Regions from separate parts of the Homo sapiens genome. Here all the other regions are linked to region 2. Evidence: promoter capture Hi-C in 16 types of primary human blood cells and fetal thymus (Javierre and others, 2016). All regions are on one chromosome and are shown on one strand. Each heading gives the region's core, a stretch centred on a gene start or on the middle of the fragment in contact. The rest is flanking DNA. Distances are from core to core; before and after follow the strand shown.

What was found. The method cuts DNA at HindIII sites, captures the fragments that hold promoters and counts their contacts. A CHiCAGO score of 5 or more calls a contact.
Region 1: a fragment that was not itself captured here is called in contact with the fragment with the promoter of CEP68 in region 2 in 2 of 17 cell types (fetal thymus and erythroblasts); the score reaches 7.0 in fetal thymus.
Region 3: a fragment that was not itself captured here is called in contact with the fragment with the promoter of CEP68 in region 2 in 1 of 17 cell types (fetal thymus); the score reaches 5.7 in fetal thymus.
Region 4: a contact is called between a fragment that was not itself captured here and the fragment with the promoter of CEP68 in region 2, in 1 of 17 cell types (monocytes). The highest score is 5.4, in monocytes.
Region 5: a fragment that was not itself captured here is called in contact with the fragment with the promoter of CEP68 in region 2 in 1 of 17 cell types (erythroblasts); the score reaches 5.5 in erythroblasts.

The regions. Positions count from the first base shown.
Region 1 is chr2:65,436,343-65,439,042 of GRCh38, reverse strand. No RefSeq gene overlaps it. Among named protein-coding and RNA genes, the nearest start is that of SPRED2, 5.1 kb to the right of the region's middle. RefSeq lists an enhancer at 888-1,694 and a silencer at 2,289-2,447. The HindIII fragment of the contact is 3,999 bases long and covers 1-2,700 here.
Region 2 is chr2:65,055,042-65,057,741 of GRCh38, reverse strand. CEP68 (centrosomal protein 68) reads right to left here and starts at 1,326. Exons shown (of 7, transcript NM_015147.3): 1 at 1,214-1,326. RefSeq lists silencers at 94-173, 184-233, 864-1,203, 1,284-1,393 and an enhancer at 1,494-1,733. The HindIII fragment of the contact is 3,790 bases long and covers 237-2,700 here.
Region 3 is chr2:65,406,529-65,409,228 of GRCh38, reverse strand. All of the region lies in intron 1 of SPRED2 (sprouty related EVH1 domain containing 2), which reads left to right. Among named protein-coding and RNA genes, the nearest start is that of SPRED2, 25 kb to the left of the region's middle. RefSeq lists an enhancer at 2,240-2,289. The HindIII fragment of the contact is 615 bases long and covers 1,059-1,673 here.
Region 4 is chr2:64,552,855-64,555,554 of GRCh38, reverse strand. It overlaps AFTPH (aftiphilin), which reads right to left. Exons shown (of 10, transcript NM_203437.4): 2 at 2,146-2,700. All of the region lies in intron 5 of LOC105374773 (a long non-coding RNA gene), which reads left to right. Among named protein-coding and RNA genes, the nearest start is that of MIR4434, 29 kb to the right of the region's middle. The HindIII fragment of the contact is 597 bases long and covers 1,134-1,730 here.
Region 5 is chr2:64,611,208-64,613,920 of GRCh38, reverse strand. LINC02579 (long intergenic non-protein coding RNA 2579) reads right to left here. Exons shown (of 4, transcript NR_034023.1): 2 at 836-1,155; 3 at 631-743. Among named protein-coding and RNA genes, the nearest start is that of LINC02579, 5.3 kb to the right of the region's middle. The HindIII fragment of the contact is 5,627 bases long and covers 1-2,713 here.

The sequences.
Region 1 (2,700 bases), core at 103-2,602, 380 kb before region 2:
CCCCACTTATTACCCTAATCATGTTAAGAGACCAGAAAACACCCAATTTCCCAAGGAAAAGGGAAAGAAACTTGGAATTTATCCTAGACCTCTCAATGAGCCCCCATATCTAACAGATCATAAAGCCAAGTCATTTCTACCCCATTTGTGTCTTTGGAATTGGTTACTTCTTTCCATGGCCCTTGTCACTGTGCTTTATCATGCATTGTTACTCCTGTCATGGAAGAGGAAAATTTCTCCCAAACCAGTCTTTGCTCTGCTCCCAACAAACCATCCTTCAAGCCTAGAATAACCTATTAAAGTATAAAACCTGAGCCTAGCATTCCCTGCTTAAACTATTTGGTTATGTAACTTGTAAAACTTGTTCCACAAATTTGGTGATTTTCTCAGCTGATCACTTGAGCCCCTCCAGCTCCCCTGGTGGGAGAGAGCCTACTTCTCTTAGGTTGGGTTCCCTAGAAACAGAGCCCAAGCTGGGATCAATGTTCATTGTTATTTTAGGAGCCTCACTGCTCCCTGCCTGTGGGCTGCCTGCCTAGGTAGAATACAGTGTCTTTGGTAAGGAGATTGGGGATTGGCCTCCCAAGAGGCCCAGCGCTCCTCATGCAAATTGCTTTTACCCAGTGACAAGCTCTACCAGCCTGGGGTCTCAGAGTGGGGCCTTCACCCAGTCACAAAACATCCTGTTATGCCAGGGGTCAAAAGCTCAAATGCCTCCAGGAGCCAGAAGCCTGACAGACAGGGCAGCCTCCACTCAGCAACCATCCACTGTTACCCCGCAGAAATCTGGCACTCACAGTTGCTAAGTCTTTAATTTTTTTCAGGAGGAACCAAAAATATTGAGTTTTATGTGAAATATTCTGGTTTTAAGCTGTTAGCTTGATTAAAAAACAACAACAACAACAAAAAAAAACAGGCAAAACAAAACTTGTCTGGGGCCTTATCTGGCCTAGGAGCTGTCAGTTTGTGAATTTGGTTTGATGCCCTAATCCCAGAACAATGGATGCCCACTTGCCCCACATTTGCATAACTTTGGGAGCCACTGCAGTGATCTGGGACTAGACAAAGATCAGCTGTGAATCGACTACAAAAGGTTCCATGATTTCAAAATAAAGGGTAACCTTCTTCAGCAAGGCCTGTGTGACCTCCCTGACCTGGCTTCTACCCTTCTCCACCCTTTCCCGCACCTCCTTCCCCCTCCTCCCAAAGTTATTTCGCACCTAGGGCCTTTGTGGTAACCCGGCTCTTTATCCCCGAGATCTCTCCCCTTCCAGTTATCTAAGGGCACTCCCAGCATCTTTCAAGGATCCTTTCCCTGACCCCTGCTTTCTCTTCTGCTTACTCCATTTTTCAGAGCTGTTACCTCGCGGCCTCATGTGTTTTTTACATGCCTGTTGCCCCAGCTGACCGAATCCCTGGAGGGAAGGAGCCTGGGTTTCTTCACTCCTGTATCCCCACTGCCTCATAGAGCCCTGGTGCTTTCAAGGCAGACTGGAGCAATGGGTATCCAGTGAAAAAAATCATGACCTTGACCATTGCCCTTCACATGTCAGAAATGCATTTGTGAAGAACTGGCCATTTTTATGTTAAGAAATTAAGTTGAAATCTGGTATTCATGAGAAGACGAAAACTTGCTTCATCCTTTAATTTTTAAAATGACTACCTATTGTTGAAAAACTGTTGGAAAAAAAATACGTTTTAAAACTTACTCAGCTTTGGACCTCGCTGAGGCTTCCAAGAGGTTCTGGAACTAGAGAATGGCTACAGTGACCAGCATTCGCTTTTCTCGAGACCCTCAAGGGTTCTCAGGGCTCATCTTAAAGTGGGGGATGAGAGGGGAGAGGGGATGTGTGCTGCCTCCCTGGGAGGGCAGAAACCAGCTCCTCTGAATGAAACAGCACTTTCCACAGAGACAGCGGCCTAGGGTGTGAGGGCGAGCAAGCCGCAGTCGAAAGCCCCTTTGCATAATCCATTCTTAAATTGACTGAGGCTTGTACAGTTGTAAACTGAAACTCCAGAGGCAAACCCTGAGCGGTTACATTTTCTCGAAAAGAATGTTTCCCAGCCTGTCAATTATTTCCTGGTCTCCGTCCCTCCCCAACGCGCGCACACACCCAACTTTTAGTAGCCAGCTGCCTTGACATTGAGTCTCTCTCCTACCTGAAGTGGAGCACCTCAGGAAGCAGCGAGGCTGCCGTTTCATTCATAATACATGAACTCAGGGGAGGAGGGAGGCGGGGGCAGGGGCCTTTCATCTCTGCTATTTAAAATCCCGGCATTGCAGCTGAAAGGGAAAACGACCTGGGATTGAACGGCACCGGGGATGAAGCATTGCACGATAACGGCACAACCGAGCGCGTCAGCGGCCCGCCCGCCGGCTATTTATACCGCGCGGATTATGCAATCGGGCTCCAGCCATTCATGCCCCGACTGGGCCGCCGCACGCCCGGGGCGGGGGGGCCTCATTCCCGGGCGCCGGGTCAGTTTCTAAGTTTGCATCATCCCCTGCATTACGAGAGAGCTTGGGTTTCCATTCCTGCCAGCGGGGCTTGGGGGAGACAGCTGGGCTACAAACTCACTTGGCACACACGACTGCTTACTTAAACATCATAATAAAGGCACCAGATCGCCCGAGGCGCGGCCCGGCCGCGCGCAGGGTTGAGCTCGGGGAGACCGGAAGGAACTGATAACCGAGCGCTA
Region 2 (2,700 bases), core at 77-2,576:
ATAACTCGCTCAAGAAGTTAAATAAATGTTTCTGTTGTGTCACCTTTAGACTACCACGCTGATTTTGTTTCCTTTTGGCTTCCTTCCATCATTGAGTGCCTTTTATGTTCCAAGCATTGTGCTAGGGGCTGGGGAAACCACAATACAGTGTGATGAGTAAAAACAGAGGCTGCAGAAGGTAGCCCAAAAAAGGGAGGAGTTATCAGTCGCAGGGTGGGGAAGTGCTTTAAAAAGCTTTGCGCAAAAGAGGTTAAACTGAATTCCTTGGGTTTTTTGTTGTTGTTGTTTTCTAAGTGGGCCAGAATTGACTCAACAGAGGGTGGGAAAGGGGAATGGAGGGAACAAAGTAAAAAGTGGTGACTTCTAGATCTTTCAACTAAACCCAAGGCAAACTGACCCAACAACCTTTGTTACACACTTTAACACAACACTCTTCATACCCTAGATCTGAGAACTGTTAGATTATTTACAAACGCTACCTCCCTTCGTGGTCCTGATGAATTCCCAGTGAGGTCCAATCTGCCCTGGCAGGCTTCCGCTCATTTTTGTTACAAACAATACACTAAACCCAACCTACTAATCATCAAGGGCCTGGAACAGGTTTTGGACATTCGTCCCCAGGCTGCTGAGAACTGTTCTAGTGATGACAGTTAGAAAGGGTAGCCCTCCGAGGCAAAAAAAATGAGACATCTTGATTTTTTCTCTCCGCATCTGGGCGCGGCGATAAGAAGACATCACTGGTCTCCATCTTTCCAGGGGGAAAGGCCCGAGCTGCATTAGCCCCGACTGGGGAGCTGGGTAAACAGCCCACGCCCGGGAGAGGCCTGAGGGAAAGTGACCTCCCCCGGGGCCCAGGCCGACCAGCGGCGCAGCTGCTCGGCCGCCAGATGCGCGGACTCGCGCACTCCCTCGCCGCGCCCGGGCATTCCCAAGCCCAGCCGCCCGCCTCGGCCCCGACCCCTCGGCCGCCACAGCACACGCCGTTCCGCTCGCAAGATGGAGGCGAAGGCACGAGGCGCCCCCGCCCCCCAGGGAGCCTTTGTGCCCTTGCCGGCGGGGACGCGAGGCCAGACGGCCCGCACCGCAAGGGCCCCGCAGGCACCGAAGAGACGCGGGGGAGGGGGCCGGGCGCGCGCGCGGATCTAGCCCGGGCCACCGCCCCCAGCGCCGCGGCACCCCCGACACCAGCACCCGCACGCGGGACACTGCCTACCTACCGCACCGCGAACGCTTCGCACGTCCGGAGCGGTCTCAGCAGCCCCATGCGCTGGCCCCGAGCTGGCGGACCCTGACTGCAACTGCGGCCCTCCAACCGCAGCCCAAAACGCGCAGGGCAGGACCGAGCGCCAACCACGCCCTTCGGCCGCGCTGACCACGCCCTTCTTCCCGCCCCTTCTCCCTCCGCGGGAGGGCTTTCGGCAATTTCGCGCAGCGAATCGCAGCTCTAAGTCCGCGGCTCCACCAATACGTGGACGCTCCTGCAAGATGAGCCCGCCCCCTACTTCGTCCTGGCCTATGGGAAGCCGGGACTTCTTCAGCGGCTGTCCTCCCTCGCTTTTGGAGCTCCGACCTCAGCTTCGCCTGCGAGCTGGGTTGTGTAAAGGCTGGTCATTTTGGGGCGCTTAGGGGTGGGTGCCGGGGGGCGCGCTTTCCCTCGTGAAGGTCGCTCCAGGAGTCATGCGTACATTCGTTCATTTTGCTCTGGACGCACTGATGTTCCCGGCTCGCCGCCGTGCCGCAGTCACGAGGCTCTCCGAACGCCTTTCACTGTGTTTCTGTTTACATTCGCGTCTGCAAGACCCGGCGGCGCGACCGAGGCCCGAACAGGTGCTGCGAGGCGGGGCGGGGAGCCAGTGCTGAGGGGAGCTCCCCAGGCCGGGTGGTTGAAGACAGCTTCTGGGGGGAGGTGGAGCTCTGGCTCGTGGAGAATGGGAAGGGTGTGGAAAATGAACTGGTAGCTACTTAGCCACTCTGAGCAGCCTGCTCTGATGGGAAATCGGTGATGGAGTCGGAGGGAAGTGGGAGGCAGCTTGTGGGAGGCCAGGGTGCTCACTCTCTCCCCTGCCAGCATGGGACCTAGTAACTTTCATACATCTCTATCTATCTATCTATTTTGCAAAGATGGGGTCTTGCTGTGTTGCCCAGGCTGGGCTTGAACTCCTGGACTCAGACGATCCTCCCGCCTCGGCCTCCCAAAGTGCTGGAATTACAGGTGTGAGCCACTGCATCCCATCCCCTAGGAGCTTAATGACACTGCCCTTTAGCTTTTACTGCTTAGCAGAATCCGGAGGCATAGAGGAACTACCACCAGGGTGGCGTGGGGAAGAGGCCCTCCCTTCTGATGATTTTCTCTCAGCAGCACTTTCAGCAATCTGGCTTCAACTGAATATCTCCCCAGTTCATAAAACAGGCGTCTGTAAATGTCAACCCCAGCTGGGTGCAGGGTACAAATTTTTTCCTACAGAGCTCTTGAGTCCCAGGTAGTTTAGGAGACAAGGACTTGTTTGGTTTTCCCAGACCTGTCAGGACAGCTCAGAGGTTTTGTCTAACCCAGGGGCCACAAACTTTGGACAACAGCAGCAGCTAGCCCACAGATGGTTTTATTTGGGCATCGCATAGCTTTTCTTTGTTTGTTTGCTTTTGTTTTTTAATAAGAATTTGAATCCCACCACCACCACTGGTCCATTAAGTAACAGCCAG
Region 3 (2,700 bases), core at 117-2,616, 350 kb before region 2:
GTGTTAGACAGTACCTCTTAGACTAGGACAGACCTGGGTGTGAATTTCCCTTTGCTGCTTATTAGCTGTGCGACCAGTGTTAAATTACCTGAACCTTTCAAAAACTTCAGTGTCCTTGAATATAGAAAAAGGGCTCATAATACTTCCTTTTCTGGGCTGTTGTATTAAGTCAGTTGATTTATGTGCATAAAGGTCTGGGGTCGATGAAGAGGTGATCTGTAAATGACATCTGTGACTTTTGAGATATCTACAGGTAATTGTGGTCTCACACAGGCTAAGGACTATAGGATATAAGGGTTATGATGAAAGGCAGAATTAGGGCAATATTTATGGGCTATTAAGAACTTTAGAGCCAGGTGCAGTGGCTCACGCTTGTAATCCCAGCACTTTGGGAGGCCAAGGCAGGCGGATCACAAAGTCAGGAGTTCAAGACCAGCCTGGCCAGTATAGTGGAACCCCATCTCTACTAAAAATACAAAAATTAGCTGGGTGTGGTGGCACGTGACTATTGTCCCAGCTACTCAGGAGGCTGAGGCAGAAGAATTGCTTGATCCCAGAAGGCAGAGGTTGCAGATCGCGCCACTGCACTCCAGCCTAGGTGACAGAGTGAGACTCCGTCTCAAAAAAAAAAAAAAGAACTTCAAAAGTCCCCTTATGTAACTGACTAATTCCTGTGGCTGGCGACTGGGATTATACATACAGACATTGGAAGGGGGCTCTGGTTCTGGTCCGAGCAATTTGCCTGGAGCTCTATGATCAATTCAGAGAAGAAGGGATACAAGGAATTCCTACAGGAATCTGTGGCATCATAAAAACAGCTTCTGCCTCAAAGTCAGGGGAGCTGATTTTGAATTCTGACTCTACCTTATACTGCATATTTATCTTCCCAAACTTTAGCTTTCTTGTCTGTCAAATAGGACTCATAGTATGAGGCTTGTGAGGATTAAATTACATGTAGCACATGAAAGTGTCCGCAGCAGTGTCTGACATGTTTGAGGTGCCTAATACATGCCGGGTGATCATTACTGGTGTCTGGAAAGAAGTTTCAGCCTAAAGCTTTGTTGAAAGGACCCAAGGTCTGGGCAGAAGGGAAGGATCTTGCTCCTCTGATAAGATCTTAAGAAGATGGAACCAGCAGGCAAGGAGAGAAGCTCAAGAGACTGGTTTTATGAGGAGCTGAAATCAGACTGATGGGTAAAAGGAAGATAGCCTGGGTTGGTGGCCTATTAGGGAATGCCTCTCTACACAGGGACCATGTCATAATCGTTTTGATAACATTCTTTCTTCTTGCCCCTTTAGACCTCTGGCTCCCTTGCCCAGCTTTTGATATTTTGTTGTTGTTTGTTCTGAGAAGTAAAAATATAGCTAGAGCTTTGCACTCGGTCATGTTAGTATTTTAAGACACTCCCAAGAGTGGAAGAGAGAACTGTCCTCCAGTTGGAGTTATGGGGAGGTTCCCTGTGCTCCACCTTTCCCACCCTTTTCTGTCTACCTGTGTGCACGGAGGCATGAGTGGATACCGCGTCTCCACGGGTGAAAGGACAAGTGATCCAGCTGAGGAGAGTTGATCTTTTGGTTTAACCAAACCAGACACCCAAACCTAGATTTCCAAGGCATGTGAACAGGGATGTGCATGACAGTCATTGACATGAAGACTCAGAATGAGATAAGCTTTAAGTTGGCAGCACTTCCCACCCCCTGCAGAGAGGAAGTTTGCATGCCATGCACCTACCTTCTTGATTGCAGCTCTCATGGCTACACAGCAATAGATTAGAACCCCCTCGTGCTGAATCTTGACTTGATGAAGACAATCAAAATGCCCCCCAAAATGCCCCCCAATACACAACACACGCACACACACACACCTGCAGCCACCTCAGTTTCCTGTTAAGTTATTGTGGTTTGGGAGTCTTCATTGTCAGTTCACATTAGCTGTGAAGTCAGAATCCTTCTGTCATGGGACTTTTAGCAAAAAAAAAAAAAGGAGCCAGCGCCCCATTTGAGAAAGAGACTATGGCTCACACCTGTAATTCCAGCACTTTGGGAGGCCAAGGCGGGCAGATCATGGGGTCAGGAGATCGAGACCATCCTGGCTAACATGGTGAAACCCCATCTCTACTAAAAATACAAAAAATTAGCCGGGCATGGTGGTGGGTGCCTGTAGTCCCAGCTACTCAGGAGCTGAGGCAGGAGAATGGCGTGAACCCAGGAGGTGGAGCTTGCAGTGAGCCGAGATGGCACCACTGCACTCCAGCCTGGGCGACAGAGCGAGACTCCGTCTCAAAAAAAAAAAAAAAGAGAGACTAAACTTTCCACTGTCCAGTAACTTGGACCAGAGCCCTGCCTGAGCCTCCAAGGCAGGCAGCTTGATGGAGGGCCCTGCCTCACTCTCAAGGCTGAGCTCTCAGGAAAGGTGGATTTTATCTCTAAGGAAGTGCGGCTGCCTTTATCAGGCCATTCTGGTGGAACAGGTTAGCTTCCTGCAAGGGTGGAAAGGAAAACGATGTTACTATTTTTAGCCTGCCTCTTGTGTACAGCAAGGTGGGCTGATGTGCTAAGCAGAAGGAAAGTGAAGTGTGAGTTGCTTTCTGCCCCCAACCTTCCATTTCCACCCCTACTTCCCAAAACCTCCCCCAGAGGTGGAATGTCAGGACATCTCACATGTGGTGCACGAAGAGTATAATGACCAACTTTATTTCT
Region 4 (2,700 bases), core at 183-2,682, 500 kb after region 2:
CAGTCTCTCTCTGTAGCCTAGCCTGAAATGCAGTGGTGTGATCTCGGCTCACTGCAACCTCCACCTGCTGGGTTCAAGTTATTCTCCTGTCTCAGCCTCCTGAGTAGCTGGGATTACAGATGCACGTCACCACGCCCAGCTAATTTTTGTATTTTTAGTAGAGACAGGGTCTCACCATGTTGGCCAGGCAGGGCTAGAACTCCTGACCTCAAGTGATCCACCCACTTCAGCCTCCCAAAGTGCTGTGATTACAGGCATGAGCCACTGCACCTGGTCTCAGAAACTCTTAATGCATCTTGCCCCATCTATAGTTTGTTTTATTTTTATAAAAAAAAGAATCATACTATAAAATTCTTATTTTCTAGCAGATTATTTCACTCATTTTAAAATTTCCTTTTATATTCACAAAAGTTCTTTGAAGTAGGTATTACCTTCTTTGTATATACAGCTGAATTCAGAAGTAACCTATCCAAAAATCATAAGGCTTTTTAAGAGGCTGGGTCAAAATTCAAACTCAGATCTGTCAGATTCCATGAAGCCCATACGCTTTATTATCTCCTATATCCAGTTATCAAATTATACATAAATAACTTCAATCAACTTGTATGATGCAAGAAATTCCTACTTGAGTGGTCACACTTTAAAAAATTCATTATCTGATGATGTTAAAAGTTCTAAGGCTACAAATTAAAGATCACCCAATACCAGTGTCACCCTATCCTCTAGTGAGATGAAACTAAATAGGGAAAGGGTTAGGTCAAAAGCAACAGTCCTCATTTAGCATCATAATTAGTTCACTTCTTGTTTAAAATGGCAAGGTTCTGCCTAAATAATGAACTGCTCAATAGGAATAATACACATTAGCTAAACCATGTAATAACTGAATTAGCAAATTAAACTACTTTGACACAAAAGCCAACTAAAAAGCGATTAGCTATGCACACCAACTGGTAATACCATAATTTCTCTAATATCTTACTGTCTCAAAGTTATCAAGGCAATGAAATATAAGTATTTCAATTACAAAGACTTTGGAAAGATTTCCAGTTGAAAATGGTTTTCTTAGCAGAAGATAACTGGAGAAATAAAGTTTGTAGATTCTGAGTTTATTAACAGTATATTTAAAATAAGCTTGTGGATCAGGTGTTAGTTACATATATCAATTGTCAGTATAAGGCAGTGAGGTTCAAGGGAGTGCCCTCTTCCACACCCCTGGAGTTGAAAAAAGGTAAAGTTTAGCACAGAGTAGAACTCTGGACTGGGGAACAACCTAGATATCAAGCTACACCTCTAGGGGCTACTTTAGGTCAAAGTGAATCTTAATGAATCTTTTCTGAAAGAGTCTGAATCAAAAAAGGATAATGTATAGGAGGTAAGGGGTAAAAATATTCTCCCTGACACACCTACTCTCTAGGAAGAGCTAACAAGTACATTTGTAAGAAAGTATAGGCAAATAAATACAACTACAATAAGTGAACCTATAGTTATTTCTTATTTTAGGACTAAACCTTAATTCATCTCATACCCTCACCCCAAGTCTTTTAGCAGCTGCTAAATTATGAGGAAAAAGAAAAACTTGCTTTTTTCTAGTTGTTTTTCTGTTCTTCAATTCACTATAGCCTTTGGCACAGAATGAGGTTTCAAATTCTGCTTGTTCTCTCCTGGAATCAAAACCGTACTTGAATTTCCTAGGTCTTTGATGGAAAAAATTAACATTCTATTCTTAAGCTTAAAAAAAAAAAGATCCAAATCTCAGTTTAACCTTCTTTTAAAATCACTGTAAAGGGTAATACTGAAGGATTGACTGGAACCGTCAATTAGGTAATAAGTGTGGGTTTTTTTTTTTTTTTTTAACATATATGGTATTTATAGTCACCAAAAAATCCAAGTTGATGAGTATCTGTAAATATTAACGAAACTCATTGAGATAAAGAAAAATCTTACTGCGCTTTACTATAGGACTATTTGTAGTTTCCCAAAGGGTTGTGAAAAATGTAACCAACCCACAAATCAGACAGGCATTATACATCATAACGAGACTCCTTTAACAAGTACTCAGTTGAAAAAATATTTTTTGAAAAGCTGAAATTAGAAGCCTCCACAACAATTAATACATCATACAAAATAGAGAAAATTAGTAAATACCTGAACTGAAGTGGCTGATTCCTGTAAATGGCCACTAGCAACTGCTCCTTTGGAAGTTGCTGAAGGTACACTGTGCGTTTTGGGGGTTCCTGGAGTATCAATATTTTCATCTGTCCTATGTGACTGCCAGGCTTCCTTTCGATGATGAGATTCAGTAGCCTGCTGGTCTCCAAAAGCAGCCCAAGAACAACTATCTTTTTGTTCATCCTCAAAAGCATTCCAATCTACAACTTGGCTAGGACCAGCTGAACTGAAGTCTGCAAAATCATCAGAGTCTTGAAAACCATTGCAGTCATCCTGAATATTTGGCACAGAATCAAAATGTCCAATCTCACCTTCTTGCCCATTTTTAAGTTTTGCAACAGGTTCAGTGCCTGTTCCACTAGATTTTCTTGCCAATTGACATTCTTCTGATAAATTATCAGAAGTCTGTTTTAGGTCTGACTTTGTTAATATTGTCTCCTCTTGGCAAGAAACAGCATTTATATCCCCAAATTCTCCAAAGTCATCACCTGGTTCACTAAAATGTGGAAAGTGCTCTGAAGACTCTTCAAA
Region 5 (2,713 bases), core at 58-2,557, 440 kb after region 2:
TTGTTCATTTCTCTATTGGATATTCTTTCTAACACAGTTGTCTTATTTTAGGTGAGTAATTCTTAGCTCTGGCATATTAGAATCACCTGGAAGACTTTTTAAAACACACATATCACACACACAAGCACACATACACACACCCCACACACAAGGAAAGCAGGCAAGAAAGCATCCCATCTCAAGATAAATATTTGGTGGGGCCTGGGTATGAGTATTTTTTGAAGTGTTCTTGTGCTTCTAATTTGCAGCCGTGGTTGAAAACCACTGTTATACATCAGATTTCTCCCACTGTCTGGCTCCAAATGCTTTCACTGCAGAATCTATTCTCATTTCGTTGACACCCAGTTTTCTCTTGTGAAAAATGGGCAGCAGAACTGCAAAGCAACACAGCACCCCCTCCCAAATTCTGAAAATCCCATGGGGGAGACCGAAGTTTCGGGAAGGAGGGTGAGACAGACGTTGTGGTCAGGCTCTTTGCCAGGTGGATTGGAAAAAATTAAAAGAACTTTCTCAAGCAACGAGACTTGCCCTGTAGACAGTGTGCGCTCTCAGTGGAGGAGGAGAGAGCTGGGGTCTTATGGGACATTTGCTTTTCTATTGCACCCATCTTCAGATACATAGCAATCTTACCCTTCTGAGGACTTTGAGGCTGAAGATTAGCACTTTATCTGAAGCAGTTCATCTCCTTTCATGAGAGACTGGAGAAGTTTGGGCCCAAGGAACTGAGTCCTTCAGGAGAGAACCTGTCAAGGCATCAGAGGGATCACCTGGGGATACAGGGGCTCCTCCACCACCTCTAGCCCTCTTGAGGGATTTATGACATTCTCACACTTACTTGAATTCATTTCTATTAAAATGCACAGGAGCCGCTCCCCTTCCTCTTCACCTCTGTTCCACCTCAGGGCGTGGGGTCCCACCTGGGGGACAGGATGGAATGAAAGGGTCTTTCCAGTGTTCAGTCAGGAAGGTCCCTGGAAACCCCCAGGCTGGCTCAGTGCCCTTCCATGTTGGAGACTGCTGAGGCCTCGTGGAGGATGACAGCAAATTTGGGTCCTCCAGGTGCTGTTGCTCCTGAAGTTGAAAGAATATGGTCAACGGCCTGAATCCTAGTCCACTTGGTGTCAGGTGTGTGGTCCCGGGCCTCAGTTTCTGCATCTGTAAAATGGAGATAGTAATGTTGATATTCAAGGTTATAACAGGACTAAAAACAGAGCACATACAACACTGTAGATGCTTGATTAATGCCAAGGGTGATTTGTGGAGGTCCCTTCATGCCCTCACCCTCTCCAGTCAGGGCTAAGGGCTTTGAGTTTAGCTCCAGACTCTCCATCCTTTCTTTTTTCTTCTGAGATGGAGTTTCACTCTTGTTGCCCAGGCTAGAGTGCAATGGCGCGATCTCGGCTCACTGCAACCTCCTCCGCCTCCCGGGTTCAAGCAATTCTCCTGCCTCAGCCTCCCAAGTAGCTGGGATTACAGGCATGCTCACCATGACCGGCTAATTTTGTTAGAGGTGGGGTTTCACCATATTGATCAGGCTGGTCTCAAACTCCCGACCTCAGGTGATCCACCCGCCTTGGTTTCCCAAAGTGCTGGGATTACAGGCGTGAGCCACTGTGCCCGTTGACTCTCCATCCTTTCATCCCCAAGCCATCCTCCATTATTCTGTTGCTCAGGGGGCACAGGAGGCAACCCCCACCCAACTGGTCCCCCAGCCTCCAGGGCGGTGCAGCACCTATGCCAGAAGCTGTGCCCCTTGGCTGGCATCCTGTATCCTGTCTCCCACCCTTTCCCTGTGAACCCCAAGCAACCTCAACCAGTTCCTCGCTACCCTTGCACTTTCCTGCCCAGACTTGACTTTAGAAATTCTATTGTAAATGTAATTTTTATTGAGCACTTACTCTGTGCCAGGGACCATGTTTTGTATTCATTACCTTATTAATTGCTCACAAAAACCTTTCATTATCCCATTTTACAGACGGGAAAGCCAGACTAGTTAGTGAAACCTGCCCAAAGCTACAGGGCATCAGGGAGCAGAGCTGGGACTCTGACCCCACCCTGCTCTGCTGACCTCCTAGGTGCCAGCTCCCAGGGAACTTAGATTTCAGGGGATGTCTTCTGTCCTTCCCCTGAGCTCCCACTGCGTCCTGCCCCTCTCTCTCTTATACACTTGTCCCACCCTGCCCCACACTGCGATTTTCTGGCTACCTCTTATCTCCATTGACCATGATGAGTTCCTCCAAGGCAGAAAATACGTCTTTGTAGCTTATTCATCTTTGAGTCTGGCACAATGCTTAGAACATTGCAGGTTCTTAAATTATTTTTCTAATTCAAAAGTAACATGTGCTCATTATGGAAAACAGACAAAATAAAGCAGAAACCAAATATCACCTATGAACCCATCACCCAAAGAAAATCATTGTTAATATTTTGACAAACTCTCTTCCAGTCCTTTTTAAAAATATATGTTTCCTTAGGCAAATAATATGTATTTTGCATAAAGTAGGTATCATACAATACCATTTTCTATGCTGCTTTTTACCTCATATCATGAGCAATTCTCCATGTCATTAGAACTGTTTTGAAAATGGGATTTTTTGATGGCTGCAGATTGTTCTCTCATGTGACTGAGCTCTCTTCTTTAAACCCCTCCCACATTGTTAGGTTTTTCCGTTTGTTTGTTTGTTTGTTTTTGAGACAGAGTCTTTCTCCATTG